Linked DNA regions of Homo sapiens: regions 1, 3 and 4 are each linked to region 2. The links are contacts of gene promoters, found by promoter capture Hi-C in human tissues and cell types (Jung and others, 2019). All regions are on one chromosome and are shown on one strand. Each heading gives the region's core, a stretch centred on a gene start or on the middle of the fragment in contact. The rest is flanking DNA. Distances are from core to core; before and after follow the strand shown.

Region 1 (3,233 bases), core at 206-2,705, 320 kb before region 2:
GTCACCAACCCAGCTCTGCTGCCTGCTAGCACTGGGCCCCTGGGCAAGCTGCCTCCTCCCCTGAGCCTCAGCCTTCCCATCTGTAAAATGGGCATAGTGGCAATTCGGTAGACCCACTGTGCTAGATCCTGTGCTGAGCCCTCTCTGTATCTGCACACTGAGCCCTGTGAGCAGCATCCCCCTCTTCTATAACCCTCGTGCTTCTAGTCCTCGCCTCAGAGTCCAGCCACGGCAGCAGTTCTGCGCCGCCTGACAGATCTCCATGCCTCCACTGCATCCAGAATGCAGCTCTGAATGCCCCATCTGGAGATGTGGGATCCTGCCCACCCAGGCCCCAGACCAAGGGACACAGTTTATGGCGAGGGAGGATCCCAGTGAGCACATGAGCGTGATGCCCACCAGTCTCACCCTGGAGCCTGGGCCTGATGGAACGTAGGGGCAGCCAGCTTGTGCTACACCCCGAGCACAGAGCCAACAGCCAGTGCCAGGTGCTGCATCCCCAGAAGCTGGAACACATGGTCCAGGGACAAGTTGTAGAAATAGGATTGCCCGGCCAGGCATGGTGGCTCATGCCTGTAATCCCAGCACTTTGGGAGGCTGAGGTGGGCAGATCACGAGGTCAGGAGATGAGACCATCTTGGCTAACACGGTGAAACCCTGTCTCTACTAAAAATACAAAAAATTAGCCGGGCGTGGTGGCGGGTGCCTGTAGTCCCAGCTACTTGGGAGGCTGAGGCAGGAGAATGGCGTGAACCCAGGAGGCGGAGCTTGCAGTGAGCCGAGATAGCACCACTGCAGTCCGGCCTGGGTGACAGAGCAAGACTCTGTCTCAAAAAAAAAAAAAAAAAAATAGGATTGCCCACTCCCCCACCCACCATGCCCCAGTGTCCTTGTGGATTTGTGCTTCTTGTCCCTGCAACTTTAGGGTTGTCAGATGAGAGGCCCCAGCTATCTGGGACAGGGGAGAGGGGAGAGGGGGCAGGGGAGAAGGGAAGTACAGGAGGGCTCCACTGGACACAGCGTGGATCTCATTGAACTCAAACCTGTGACTACATCTGTTACACTGGGGTCTTTCTGCCAAGGACCAGGACTAACATGTAAAGAAAGGGGTTTCCACTCAGGGTGGGTTCTAAGCTCTTCTCGGTCACCTTCTAGCATGAAGTCTTTGCAGGTACTGCAGATGCCAGCACCTCAAAGGGGCCTCTGATGGGTGGACCCAGTTGGTGGCAGGGGCGGGGCTGAATGCTGCCAGGTGGGCACTGTGTTGAGCAGCTCGCCTGAATGGCTTCAGACCTCTTGGCTTCACCTCCTAATCCAGGCCCAGGTGCAGTAAACAGACCTCGCAGGCTGTGACAAGCTCCATGTGGCAGAAAGCTGACAATGGCCTGCCCTAGGCCCCTGTGCTTGCCTCTCGCTTCCAGTCCGGGGCTTTGCTGATGCCACAGTGTGGGATCCCCCAACCTCCACCCCTCCACAGTAACCCACTCAGCAGTTACACACGCTCAACTGCAAGTGCAAAGGCATGAACACCCTACAGGCCAGCGTTTCCTCAAAGGCGGCAGAGCCCTGGAAGCAATGCTCTCTCCTTTCTTCCCCTTGGCGGATGGTTCTGAGATGCATTTTGTAAGGCAGCTCCGGTGATCCTGCGGGATCTGGCACCCCGGCTTCCATAATGGTGAACTCAGCAATGTACGTTTGCATTGGCTTTTTTTTTTTTTTTTTTTTTTTTTGAGACAGTCTTGCTCTGTCACCCAGGCTGGAGCGCAGTGGTGTGATCTCGGCTCACTGAAACCTCCATCTCCCAGATTCAAGTGATTCTCCTGCCTCAGCCTCCCAAGTAGCTGGGATTACAGGCACCCGCCACCACACCCGTCTAATTTTTGTATTTTTAGTAGAGACGGGATTTCGCCATGTTGGCCAGGCTGGTAATTTTTGTATCTTTAGTAGAGACGGGGTTTTGCCACGTTAGCCAGGCTGGTCTCTTAACTCCTGATCCAAGTGATCCACCTACCTCGGCCTCCCAAAGTGCTGGGATTACAGGCGGAACCACTGTGCCTGGCCTTTGCATTGGTTTTCTTGCTGCTCCTGTTTTGCTCTCCCCCTCCCCATCCCTCAGTCTTGCCTCTGGGAGTACTCGTCCCAAACAAGCTCCAAGTACAACAGCCTTTCTTTGAGGCCTGCTTGCAGGGAGCCCAAGCCAAAACAGATGTTACAGGCTGGATTGTGCTCCTCCAAATTCATACATTGAAGTCCTAACCCCAGTTCGTCAGTATGTGTCTGTATTTGGAGATAGGGTACTATGGTCTGAATGCTTGCATCCCACCAAAATTCAGGTTGCAACCTAATCTCCAATGTGATGGTATTATGAGGTGGTGGCATTGGAGAGGTGAGAGGCTCTGCCCTTACTAATAAGATTAATGTCTGTATCAGTCCATTCTTGAATTTCTGTGAAGAAACCCTGAGACCAGGTAATTTATAAAGAAAAGAGGTTTGATTGGCTCACGGGTCTGCAGGCTGTACAGGAAGCATGCTGGCATCTGCTCAGCTTCTGGGGAGGCCTCAGGAAGCTTCCAATAATGACGGAAGGTGAAGGGGGAACAGGTGTCTCACACGGCCAGAGCGGGAGCAAGAGAGAGTTGACAGGGAGGTGCCACACACTTTTAAACAACCAGATCCCACGAGAACCCACTCAGTATCAGGAAGATGGCACCAAGTCATGAGGGATCCACCACCAACCAAACACCTCCTACCAGGCCCCATCTCCAACTCTGGGGAGGCTGAGGCAGGAGAATCGGTTGAACCTGGCAGGCGGAAGTTACGGTGAGCCGAGATTGCACCATTGCACTCCAGCCTGTGCAACAGAGCCAGACTCCGTCTCAAAACAACAATAACAACAACAACAACAACAACAAAAAAAAAAAAACAGAAAAAAGAAAGAAATGATGGAGCACCTATTACCCTTCTTGCACTGGTTCCTGGGGAGCTCAGAGCCTATTTTTTGAAAGTGTCCTGATCCTCTTGCAGGCCTTTCATGTGTGTTTCCTTCCTGGCTTCCTCCTGTTTTTCTCACACCTCTGAACCTGCTGTCAGGTGAAAAATCAAGGTGGGCCCAAAATGTAAGAGCTCATGAATTTGATGGTGTTGGAGTGTCCTGGACAGTCCAGCCCTCAGGGGTGGGGAGCTGGGCAGAGAGGAAGGAGGGCATTCCAGGGGCCAGGGCTAGAAGCAGAGGG
Region 2 (3,263 bases), core at 288-2,787:
TCAACCAGGCCCTGGCTCTTCAGTCTTCTGCCTGGAGTGACTTATGTAATTCTGCTCAGCTTTCATAGGGCACAGGGAGTCGGGGCTAACTCTGCTGCCTGGGGCTGGAAACAGACTCCTCCCTTGAGGAGCAGCAGTCCACCATAGGGAAGTCACAGTGGTCCAGGCCAAAGGGGATGCAGGTAGTGTAGACTAGGCGGTAGTTCAGGGAATGGAGAGAAGTGGGAATAAAGGGATAGTGAAAGGAAGCATATTTTACTGGCAGGTGATGAGGTGTAGGAGGACAAGTCATACATTTGGACTTTACAGAGCAGTGGACACTCAGTCAGCTGCTGTCAGCGCCTGGGACTTAGGGGAGTGCCCCTGGCTGGAGACATGGTATGGAGTGCCATCAGTTAGGGAGCCCTGGGCACAGGTAAGAGAAGGTGTGACACCAGGAGGGAAAGAGTCTGGGGCCCAGCTGCAGGAACCAATACCCATAGGCTATTTGTATAAATGGGCCATGGGGCCTCCCAGCTGGAGGCTGGCTGGTGCCACGAGGGTCCCACAGGCATGGGTGTCCTTCCTATATCACATGGCCTTCACTGAGACTGGTATATGGATTGCACCTATCAGAGACCAAGGACAGGACCTCCCTGGAAATCTCTGAGGACCTGGCCTGTGATCCAGTTGCTGCCTTGTCCTCTTCCTGCTATGTCATGGCTTATCTTCTTTCACCCATTCATTCATTCATTCATTCAGCAGTATTAGTCAATGTCTCTTGTATGCCTGGCACCTGCTAGATGGTCCCCGAGTTTACCATTAGTGGAAAAGACATTTAAGAAATTCACCAAGGGCTCTATGAGAGGCCATACACGGTGGACCTGACTAGGGTGTGGCTTCCCTGAGGAGCTGAAGTTGCCCAGAGGCCCAGAGAAGGGGAGCTGAGCACGTTTGAACCACTGAACCTGCTCTGGACCTCGCCTCCTTCCCTTCGGTGCCTCCCAGCATCCTATCCTCTTTAAAGAGCAGGGGTTCAGGGAAGTTCCCTGGATGGTGATTCGCAGGGGCAGCTCCCCTCTCACCTGCCGCGATGACTACCCCGCCCCATCTCAAACACACAAGCTCACGCATGCGGGACTGGAGCCCTTGAGGACATGTGGCCCAAAGACAGGAGGTACAGGGGCTCAGTGCGTGCAGTGGAATGAACTGGGCTTCATCTCTGGAAGGGTAAGGGGCCATCTTCCGGGTTCACCGCCGCATCCCCACCCCCGGCACAGCGCCTCCTGGCGACTAACATCGGTGACTTAGTGAAAGGACTAAGAAAGACCCGAGGCGAGGCCGGAACAGGCCGATTTCTAGCCGCCAAGTGGAGAACAGGTTGGAGCGGTGCGCCGGGCTTAGCGGCGGTTGCTGGAGGAACGGGCGGAGTCGCCCAGGGTCCTGCCCTGCGGGGGTCGAGCCGAGGCAGGCGGTGACTTCCCCACTCGGGGCGGAGCCGCAGCCTCGCGGGGGCGGGGCCTGGCGCCGGCGGTGGCGTCACAAAAGGCGGGACCACAGTGGTGTCCGAGAAGTCAGGCACGTAGCTCAGCGGCGGCCGCGGCGCGTGCGTCTGTGCCTCTGCGCGGGTCTCCTGGTCCTTCTGCCATCATGCCGATGTTCATCGTAAACACCAACGTGCCCCGCGCCTCCGTGCCGGACGGGTTCCTCTCCGAGCTCACCCAGCAGCTGGCGCAGGCCACCGGCAAGCCCCCCCAGGTTTGCCGGGAGGGGACAGGAAGAGGGGGGTGCCCACCGGACGAGGGGTTCCGCGCTGGGAGCTGGGGAGGCGACTCCTGAACGGAGCTGGGGGGCGGGGCGGGGGGAGGACGGTGGCTCGGGCCCGAAGTGGACGTTCGGGGCCCGACGAGGTCGCTGGGGCGGGCTGACCGCGCCCTTTCCTCGCAGTACATCGCGGTGCACGTGGTCCCGGACCAGCTCATGGCCTTCGGCGGCTCCAGCGAGCCGTGCGCGCTCTGCAGCCTGCACAGCATCGGCAAGATCGGCGGCGCGCAGAACCGCTCCTACAGCAAGCTGCTGTGCGGCCTGCTGGCCGAGCGCCTGCGCATCAGCCCGGACAGGTACGCGGAGTCGCGGAGGGGCGGGGGAGGGGCGGCGGCGCGCGGCCAGGCCCGGGACTGAGCCACCCGCTGAGTCCGGCCTCCTCCCCCCGCAGGGTCTACATCAACTATTACGACATGAACGCGGCCAATGTGGGCTGGAACAACTCCACCTTCGCCTAAGAGCCGCAGGGACCCACGCTGTCTGCGCTGGCTCCACCCGGGAACCCGCCGCACGCTGTGTTCTAGGCCCGCCCACCCCAACCTTCTGGTGGGGAGAAATAAACGGTTTAGAGACTAGGAGTGCCTCGGGGTTCCTTGGCTTGCGGGAGGAATTGGTGCAGAGCCGGGATATTGGGGAGCGAGGTCGGGAACGGTGTTGGGGGCGGGGGTCAGGGCCGGGTTGCTCTCCTCCGAACCTGCTGTTCGGGAGCCCTTTTGTCCAGCCTGTCCCTCCTACGCTCCTAACAGAGGAGCCCCAGTGTCTTTCCATTCTATGGCGTACGAAGGGATGAGGAGAAGTTGGCACTCTGCCCTGGGCTGCAGACTCGGGATCTAAGGCGCTCTGCCCGCCGGAATCCGTTGTACCTAGGGCCACCACGTGGGGTGCTGGAGGTGAGCCGACCACGGAAGAGGGGGAGGAGGAGTTGGAGTTGGGAGGAGTCCGAGGTCTTCTAGGCCTAGACCTTTCTCTCAGCCCCACCTTCCCCAGCCTTCTTGTTGGGCAGAGGGTAGCCAGAGGACAGAAAGATCCCACCCAGAGCCACTCACTGCCATCCACTTTGTTAGGTGACTTCAGGAGAGTTTTCAGGCGGGTGGGTGGGGGAGGTGCAGAGTTCTTGGTCATACCGCCCCGTCCACCCCCGAACCCCACGCCTTGGGTTCTGCTCCCCTCAGACACCCACCAAGCCTCCGCCACAGCAGTTCCCTGAGGAAATTGGGCGTGGGGTTTCCATTGGGACCGTTCGTGTTCTGTGGTGCCACAGACATGTCTGTAAAACCTTCAGTTATGTTTGGGCGCAGTGGCACAAGCCTGTGATCCCGGCACTTTGGGAGGTGGAGGTGAGTGGAGTGTGACTCCTCTGCTTCTCTCAGTCTCCAGCCACATCTCGTCTCCAGTCCCCTGTTCACTCGGTCATCCCGCGCAGTACTGGACAGCGAGCTCTCCTTCCAGAAGAGCAATGG
Region 3 (3,284 bases), core at 285-2,784, 340 kb before region 2:
TCATTTCATCCTTCAACCACCCTCCCATTCATCCTCTACTCATCTTTTCATCCATCCTCCCAGCCATTCTCCATCCATCTTTCATCCATCCTCCATCCATCTTCCATTCATCCACCCATCCACCCTCCCATCAATCCTCCCATCTTTCTTTCCATTCATCTTTCCTCTATTTCTCTGTCCACCCTCTATCCATCCTCCCATCCACCCTACCGTCTATCTTCCATCCATTCTCCATTTATCTTCCCATCCATTCTCCCTCCATCTTATTCTTCATTCATCCTCCCATCCATCTTTTTCATCCATCCTCCCATTCATTCCTCTGTCTATCCTCTCCTGCATCTTCCCATCCATTTTCCCATCTATCCTTCATTCATCCCGTCATCCATCCTCTTATTCATCTTTACATCCATCCTCCCATCCATCTTTTCATCCATCCTCCCATTCATTCCTCTGTCTATCCTCCCATGCATTCTACCATCCATTTTCTCATCTATCCTTCATTCATCCTGTCATCCATCCTCCCATCCATCTTTCCATCCATCCACCCATCCATCCTTCATTCATCCTCCCATTCATTTTTCCATCCATCCTCCCATTCATCCATTCTCCCTCTATCCTCCCATCCATCCTTTCATCCATCCTTTCGTCAATTTTCTCATCAATGCTCCCATCCATCTTTCCATTTATCTTCCATCCATTCCTCTGTCCACCCTCTCATCCATTCTCCCATCAATCTTCCATTCATTCTCCATCCATCCTCTCTTCTACCTCCCTCCACCTTCCCATCTATCCTCCATCTATCCTCCCATCCATCCTCCCATCCATCTTTCCATCCATTCTCCTATCCATTCTTCTGTCCATCCTCCCATGCATCCTCCCATCCATTTTCCCATCTATCCTTCATCTTTCCTCCCACCCATCCTCCCATCCATCTTTCTATCCATCCACCCATTCATCTTTCATTCATCCTTGCATCCATTTTTCCATCCATCCTTCAGCCATCTTCCCATCCATCTTCTCATCAATCCTCTCATCCATCTTTCCATCCATTCTCCCCCATCCTCCCATCCATCCTTTCATCCATCCTCCCATCCACCCTTGCAACAATTTTTCCATCCATCCTCCCATCCACCTTCCCATCAATCTCCCTTCAGTCTCCATTCATTCTCCTCTATTCCTTGTTCATTCTCTTATCCTCCCATGCCCCAAGCCCTCACTCAGGCTTTGTCATGCCTCTAAGCCTTAATATAGGCTGTTCTCTCAGCCAGGCCTGCTTTTTCTCCTCTTTGTTGGCCCAGGGACTCACACCTGTGTGGGACCTGCCCTGATACACTCCACACCCTCTCCTCCTGCACCTGGCCCTGCCTCTGCAGTACCAACTTCTCAGTGTCCACCTCAGTGCCAGCCACAGATGGGGAGTTCTGGTGGCCTTGCTGGCCCATGACCTCATTGGGGCCTGCTCTCTTGTGGCTCACCCCAAAGCAGAGGGAGTAGAGCCACCTCAGGGACACACACGGTGGGCTGCGCCTTGGGAGAACACAACTAATTTTAACAATGGCCTTAGGGAAGAGACAAATCTGTCCCTTTATTCCCTCCTTAGAGAAAAATCTGTGTGTGCATGTGTATATGCACACATGATTCAGAGCATCAAACGCTGCTGTGACTCGGGTGTCACCAGCCTCATTTGCCCAGTGCTAGAGGGGACAAACACACGACCTCCAGCCACAGGATAGTAGCTCTACATGCTGACTCTTGGCAAGCAGGGCCTGGTGTTTGTCCAGACGCCCAAACCCCTGGGGATGTCCTCACCTGGTTATGTGGTGCCCAGCAGTGTTTCAGTGAACCTTAACCAACCTTGGAGGGCTGCTGGGCAGAGTGGGAGAGCAAGTGTCTGGCTCCTGGTGAGTGGGTGCCCTTGTGCCAGCTAATGACCCCCATGGCCTTCAGCTGCTTTCCTGTCGACTGGGGAGGGGGTGCTCCCAGGCTGCTGTGAGGAGGTGGCCAGAAGAGCGGGAACAGTCCTATGTGTTTCCTTCTCTCCAGAGAGCCTGACCAGGGCTGATGAATTAGGGTGCATGGCCCAATTCACTGTCCATGGATCCACCTTGGATTTGGGGTCCCTGTGGGGATGTGAAGCTTCGGAAACTCCTCTGTCCCCCCACCTTCCTTTTCCCTTCCAAGACAGGATCTGGACTCTTGAAATTCTGCACACTAATAAAATTGTAACTAATTTACATCCAAGATGCGGAGTGAGTGGCAGCGGTTGTCATGGAGACCATCTCCAGGGCCCCGCTGCCTTCGCCTTTCGGTGCAGCCGAGAGTTCAAGAGATTCTCGCCGAGTGCTGCAGCTGGGGCCAGTCCTCATGCCTCCCGGGCACCCTGCCCTGCTCCCCCCATGCTGGGCAGGCCCTTGGGGGATGGAATGGAGGCAGCCCCCCTTGGAAAGGCCCCAAGTTCTGCCGATGGTGTTCTGAAGGTCAAAGTCCCTCTCTCCTGACTGTACATCTGCCCCCAGCACTGCCCATTCACCCTGTGGGCCCCACTGGCTCCGTTCACTCCAGATGGAAGCCCCCTCGAGGGACATGAGGCCCTATCCCCACAGCACAGCCAGCAAAGGCACTCAGAGTGGGGACAGTTTCCAGGGAAGGGGCAGAGCAGCAGAGCCCAAGCCACCCACAGACCTGTCCACCTGGGGTCCACCCTGGGAAATGCCCCACCCTGGACTCCATGAATCCCAAGATGGAGAAAATGCCCTCCGTGGCCTCACAGAGCTTGCCTGCCCACAGGAAAGACGTTGAAATAACCAGTACTGGCCAGGTGCGGTGGCTCATGCCTGTAATCCTAACATCTAGGGAGGCTGAGATGGGCGGGTCACTTGAGGTCAGGAGTTTGAGACCACCATGGCCAACATGGTGAAAACCGGTCTCTACTAAAAATACAAAAATTAGCCGAGGCATGGTGACTCGCGCCTGTAGTCCCAGCTATTTGGGAGGCTGAGGCAGGAGAATTGCTTGAACCCAGGAGACGGAGGTTGCAGTGAGCTGAGATCATGCCACTGCACCCCAACCGGGGCAACAGAGTGAGACTCCGTATCAAAAAAAAAAAGAAAAAGAAAAAAACGAACCAGTGCTGTGACTCTACGCCACACACTGTGCTGAACCCTTCGCATGTGAGATCTTGTCTCAATGTCAAGGCAACACAATGCGGTGGGCAATACTTTAAGCCCCCATTTCATCACGAACAAAAAGGTTGTAGACAGGTGGGTGGATAACACCCAAGTTCG
Region 4 (2,997 bases), core at 489-2,988, 360 kb before region 2:
GACTGAGCACCTAAGCTGGTCTCCTCCCACCCCTTGCCCCCTCCCACCCCCTTGCTCCACTACTGGATCCTGGGGAGTCTGGCAGGGGCTGTCAGGGTTAAGCAGTGGGCTCCCCTTCCAGGCCTGCTCCAGACAGCAGCCCCCACCCTCCCTTTGTTCACGTCACTGGAAGGGTGGGCCTAGGCTGGGGCCTGGCTCCTTGGAGAAGACCCACCAGTGATCTAGCAGGGCCCAGAGCCAGGGCTGGGCCTGGACATTCCAAGTCAATTCAGGACTCAGAGCACCCCAGAGGGGAAGGGACCTGGGTTGTCCCCTGGAGTCACTAGCATCTGCGGCGAAACTCCCCCCGCCCCCACTGGTCTGCCCTGGATCCTAAGGGTAGAGGGACAGCGTGGCGGGAAGTAGCCCACTCCACCTGGGCAGGAACAAACCCACAGCCACCCGAGGAAGAGAGAATGCTGGCAGGATAGTCATGGAGCGGGGGCTCAGGAAGGCCTCTTTGAGGAGACAGTCTTAACACCTGAGAGCTGAGAAGAATTCAGCCTCACAAAACCCAGAGACGTGGCCCTCAAGAGGGAGATGGGGCTGGGAGACATGGTGGAGTGGCCAGGCCGGGAGTGGCTGCAGGGTTTGAGCCTGGGCCCAGCAGGTCTGGCAGGTCACCCCAGGGGTCTCCTGCTTGCTCCTGAGCCAGTGTCTGTGAGAGCTGGGTGGCAAGGCCAGCGGGAGGCTGAGGGACCCAGGGCCCGGGCATGTGGGAAGCGAGGGCGGCCTCTCCTTGGTTCCTCGGCAGCCTGGACCCTCACCCCCTGCAAGGTCCTGGTGGCCACCGCTTGCAGGGCCGTCCCTCTGGGAGTGGGCAGGGGGGCTGGGGGACACTGGGAAGACCTTCACCCCTCCGAAGGCAAGGCCTGGTCACGTTCATCCTCCATCCCTTTCCCGCCTGGACTCCTCCTGTGTGCTGGGAGCACTTGGCCGTGTGAGAACAGGGCAGCATGGTGGACGGGCCAGCATGGCACGGCGAGGTCTGAGCCCCTGGCTACTCTCCCCAGCCCTGAGAACTCAGGCTGCTCCGTAAGCTCTGTGGGCCTCAGGCTCCTGGTCGCTAGAATGGAGCCACAGGCAGGCTACCCAGAAGTGAGATGCCTGCCAAAAAGCCGTGTGCCCAGCCCAGAGCCAAGACTTGGTCCATCGAGCCCCAGCTCAAAAGCCCTATGAGAGGCCGGCCCTGAGCACCGTCCCTGTCCCTGTGTGCCACTTCAGTCACAATTCAGCAGCTCGCAGCCGCCCACTGAGGCTGAGCCTCTGTTCAAATTTGCCTCGATGTTTGCTGGTCACTGATTCAGGTCTTCGGGCCTCAGCTTCCTTACCCACAAACTGGGGGCGGCCTCTGGGGGCTGTTGTAAGGGGAGCTGGAGGCCACAGGCTCTGGCCTGGAGCACTTCGCTCTCCACCACTGTCTTCTCCTGACGTCTGTGTTTCCTCGTATCTCATGGTACCGCGTCTCCTCCGCAGGACCTGTGTGTCCTGTGTGACGCTGTGTGCCACCCACCACATCTTCAGCCCCTGAGAAAGATTCTGGTGGTGGAGGCTGTTGAGTAAATGCTCACTTGAGCTTCTCCCACTACCTTGGAGCCCCTCTTCTATTTGTCTCCAAATTCTCTTTGCTGACAGAGTGCACAGTTCAAAACCCCACACTGGGATGAACTAGAGGACGCCCAGGTCCAGCTCAGGAGCAGCTTCATGTCCCCTCCACTGCTGTACCTCTAGGGCCTCCCTCTGCCACTGCCATCTACTAGGACATTCTTCCTGGGCCCCTGTGGGACAAGGACTGCCTTTGGCTAGTGTGGGGAAAAGAAAGAGAGATCAGACTGTTACTGTGTCTATGTAGAAAGAAATAGACATAAGAGACTCCATTTTGTTCTGTACTAAGAAAAATTCTTCTGCTTTGAGATGCTGTTAATCTGTAACCCTAGCCCCAACCCTGTGCTCACAGAAACAGGTGCTGTGTTGACTCAAGGTTTAATGGATTCAGGGCTGTGCAGGATGTGCTTTGTTAAACAAATGCTTGAAGGCAGCAAGCTTGTTAAGAGTCATCACCACTCCCTAATCTCAAGTAAGCAGGGACACAAACACTGCGGAAGGCCGCAGGGACCTCTGCCTAGGAAAGCCAGGTGTTGTCCAAGGTTTCTCCCCATGTGACAGTCTGAAATATGGCCTCTTGGGAAGGGAAAGACCTGACTGTCCCCTGGCCCGACACCCGTAAAGGGTCTGTGCTGAGGATTAGTAAAAGAGGAAGGAAGGCCTCTTTGCAGTTGAGATAAGAGGAAGGCATCTGTCTCCTGCTCATCCCTGGGCAATGGAATGTCTTGGTGTAAAGCCTGATTGTATATGCCATCTACTGAGATAGGAGAAAACTGCCTTAGGGCTGGAGGTGGGACATGCTGGCGGCAATACTGCTCTTTAAGGCATTGAGATGTTTATGTATATGCACATCAAAAGCACAGCACTTTTTTCTTTACCTTGTTTATGATGCAGAGACATTTGTTCACATGTTTTCCTGCTGGCCCTCTCCCCACTATTACCCTATTGTCCTGCCACATCCCCCTCTCCGAGATGGTAGAGATAATGATCAATAAATACTGAGGGAACTCAGAGACCGGTGCGGCGCGGGTCCTCCATATGCTGAGCGCCGGTCCCCTGGGCCCACTTTTCTTTCTCTATACTTTGTCTCTGTTGTCTTTCTTTTCTCAAGTCTCTCGTTCCACCTGAGGAGAAATGCCCACAGCTGTGGAGGCGCAGGCCACTCCATCTGGTGCCCAACGTGGATGCTTTTCTCTAGGGTGAAGGGACTCTCGAGTGTGGTCATTGAGGACAAGTCAACGAGAGATTCCCGAGTACGTCTACAGTGAGCCTTGTGGTAAGCTTGGGCGCTCGGAAGAAGCCAGGGTTAATGGGGCAAACTAAAAGTAAAGTCTCTCATTCCACCTGATGAGA

What was found. The method cuts DNA at HindIII sites, captures the fragments that hold promoters and counts their contacts. A contact is called where the count stands out against the background at its distance.
Region 1: a fragment that was not itself captured here is called in contact with the fragment with the promoter of MIF in region 2 in 1 of the 25 tissues and cell types used here (lymphoblastoid cells).
Region 3: a contact is called between a fragment that was not itself captured here and the fragment with the promoter of MIF in region 2, in 1 of the 25 tissues and cell types used here (spleen).
Region 4: a fragment that was not itself captured here is called in contact with the fragment with the promoter of MIF in region 2 in 4 of the 25 tissues and cell types used here (bladder, dorsolateral prefrontal cortex, mesenchymal stem cells and 1 more).

Annotation. Positions count from the first base shown.
Region 1 is chr22:23,569,522-23,572,754 of GRCh38, forward strand. All of the region lies in intron 2 of LOC105372957 (a long non-coding RNA gene), which reads left to right. Among named protein-coding and RNA genes, the nearest start is that of IGLL1, 9.2 kb to the right of the region's middle. The HindIII fragment of the contact is 9,559 bases long and covers 1-3,233 here.
Region 2 is chr22:23,892,846-23,896,108 of GRCh38, forward strand. MIF (macrophage migration inhibitory factor) reads left to right here and starts at 1,538. Exons shown (of 3, transcript NM_002415.2): 1 at 1,538-1,737; 2 at 1,927-2,099; 3 at 2,195-2,378. The coding sequence starts at 1,630. The coding sequence ends at 2,261. MIF-AS1 (MIF antisense RNA 1) reads right to left here. Exons shown (of 3, transcript NR_038911.1): 2 at 2,984-3,263; 3 at 865-2,687. RefSeq lists enhancers at 1,213-2,020, 2,021-2,828. The HindIII fragment of the contact is 32,419 bases long and covers 1-3,263 here.
Region 3 is chr22:23,551,844-23,555,127 of GRCh38, forward strand. No RefSeq gene overlaps it. Among named protein-coding and RNA genes, the nearest start is that of PCAT14, 15 kb to the left of the region's middle. The HindIII fragment of the contact is 7,531 bases long and covers 1-3,284 here.
Region 4 is chr22:23,534,217-23,537,213 of GRCh38, forward strand. LOC124900476 (endogenous retrovirus group K member 5 Gag polyprotein-like) reads left to right here and starts at 2,665. Exons shown (of 2, transcript XM_047441690.1): 1 at 2,665-2,920. RefSeq lists enhancers at 387-1,002, 1,003-1,619, 2,235-2,851. The HindIII fragment of the contact is 4,075 bases long and covers 1-2,997 here.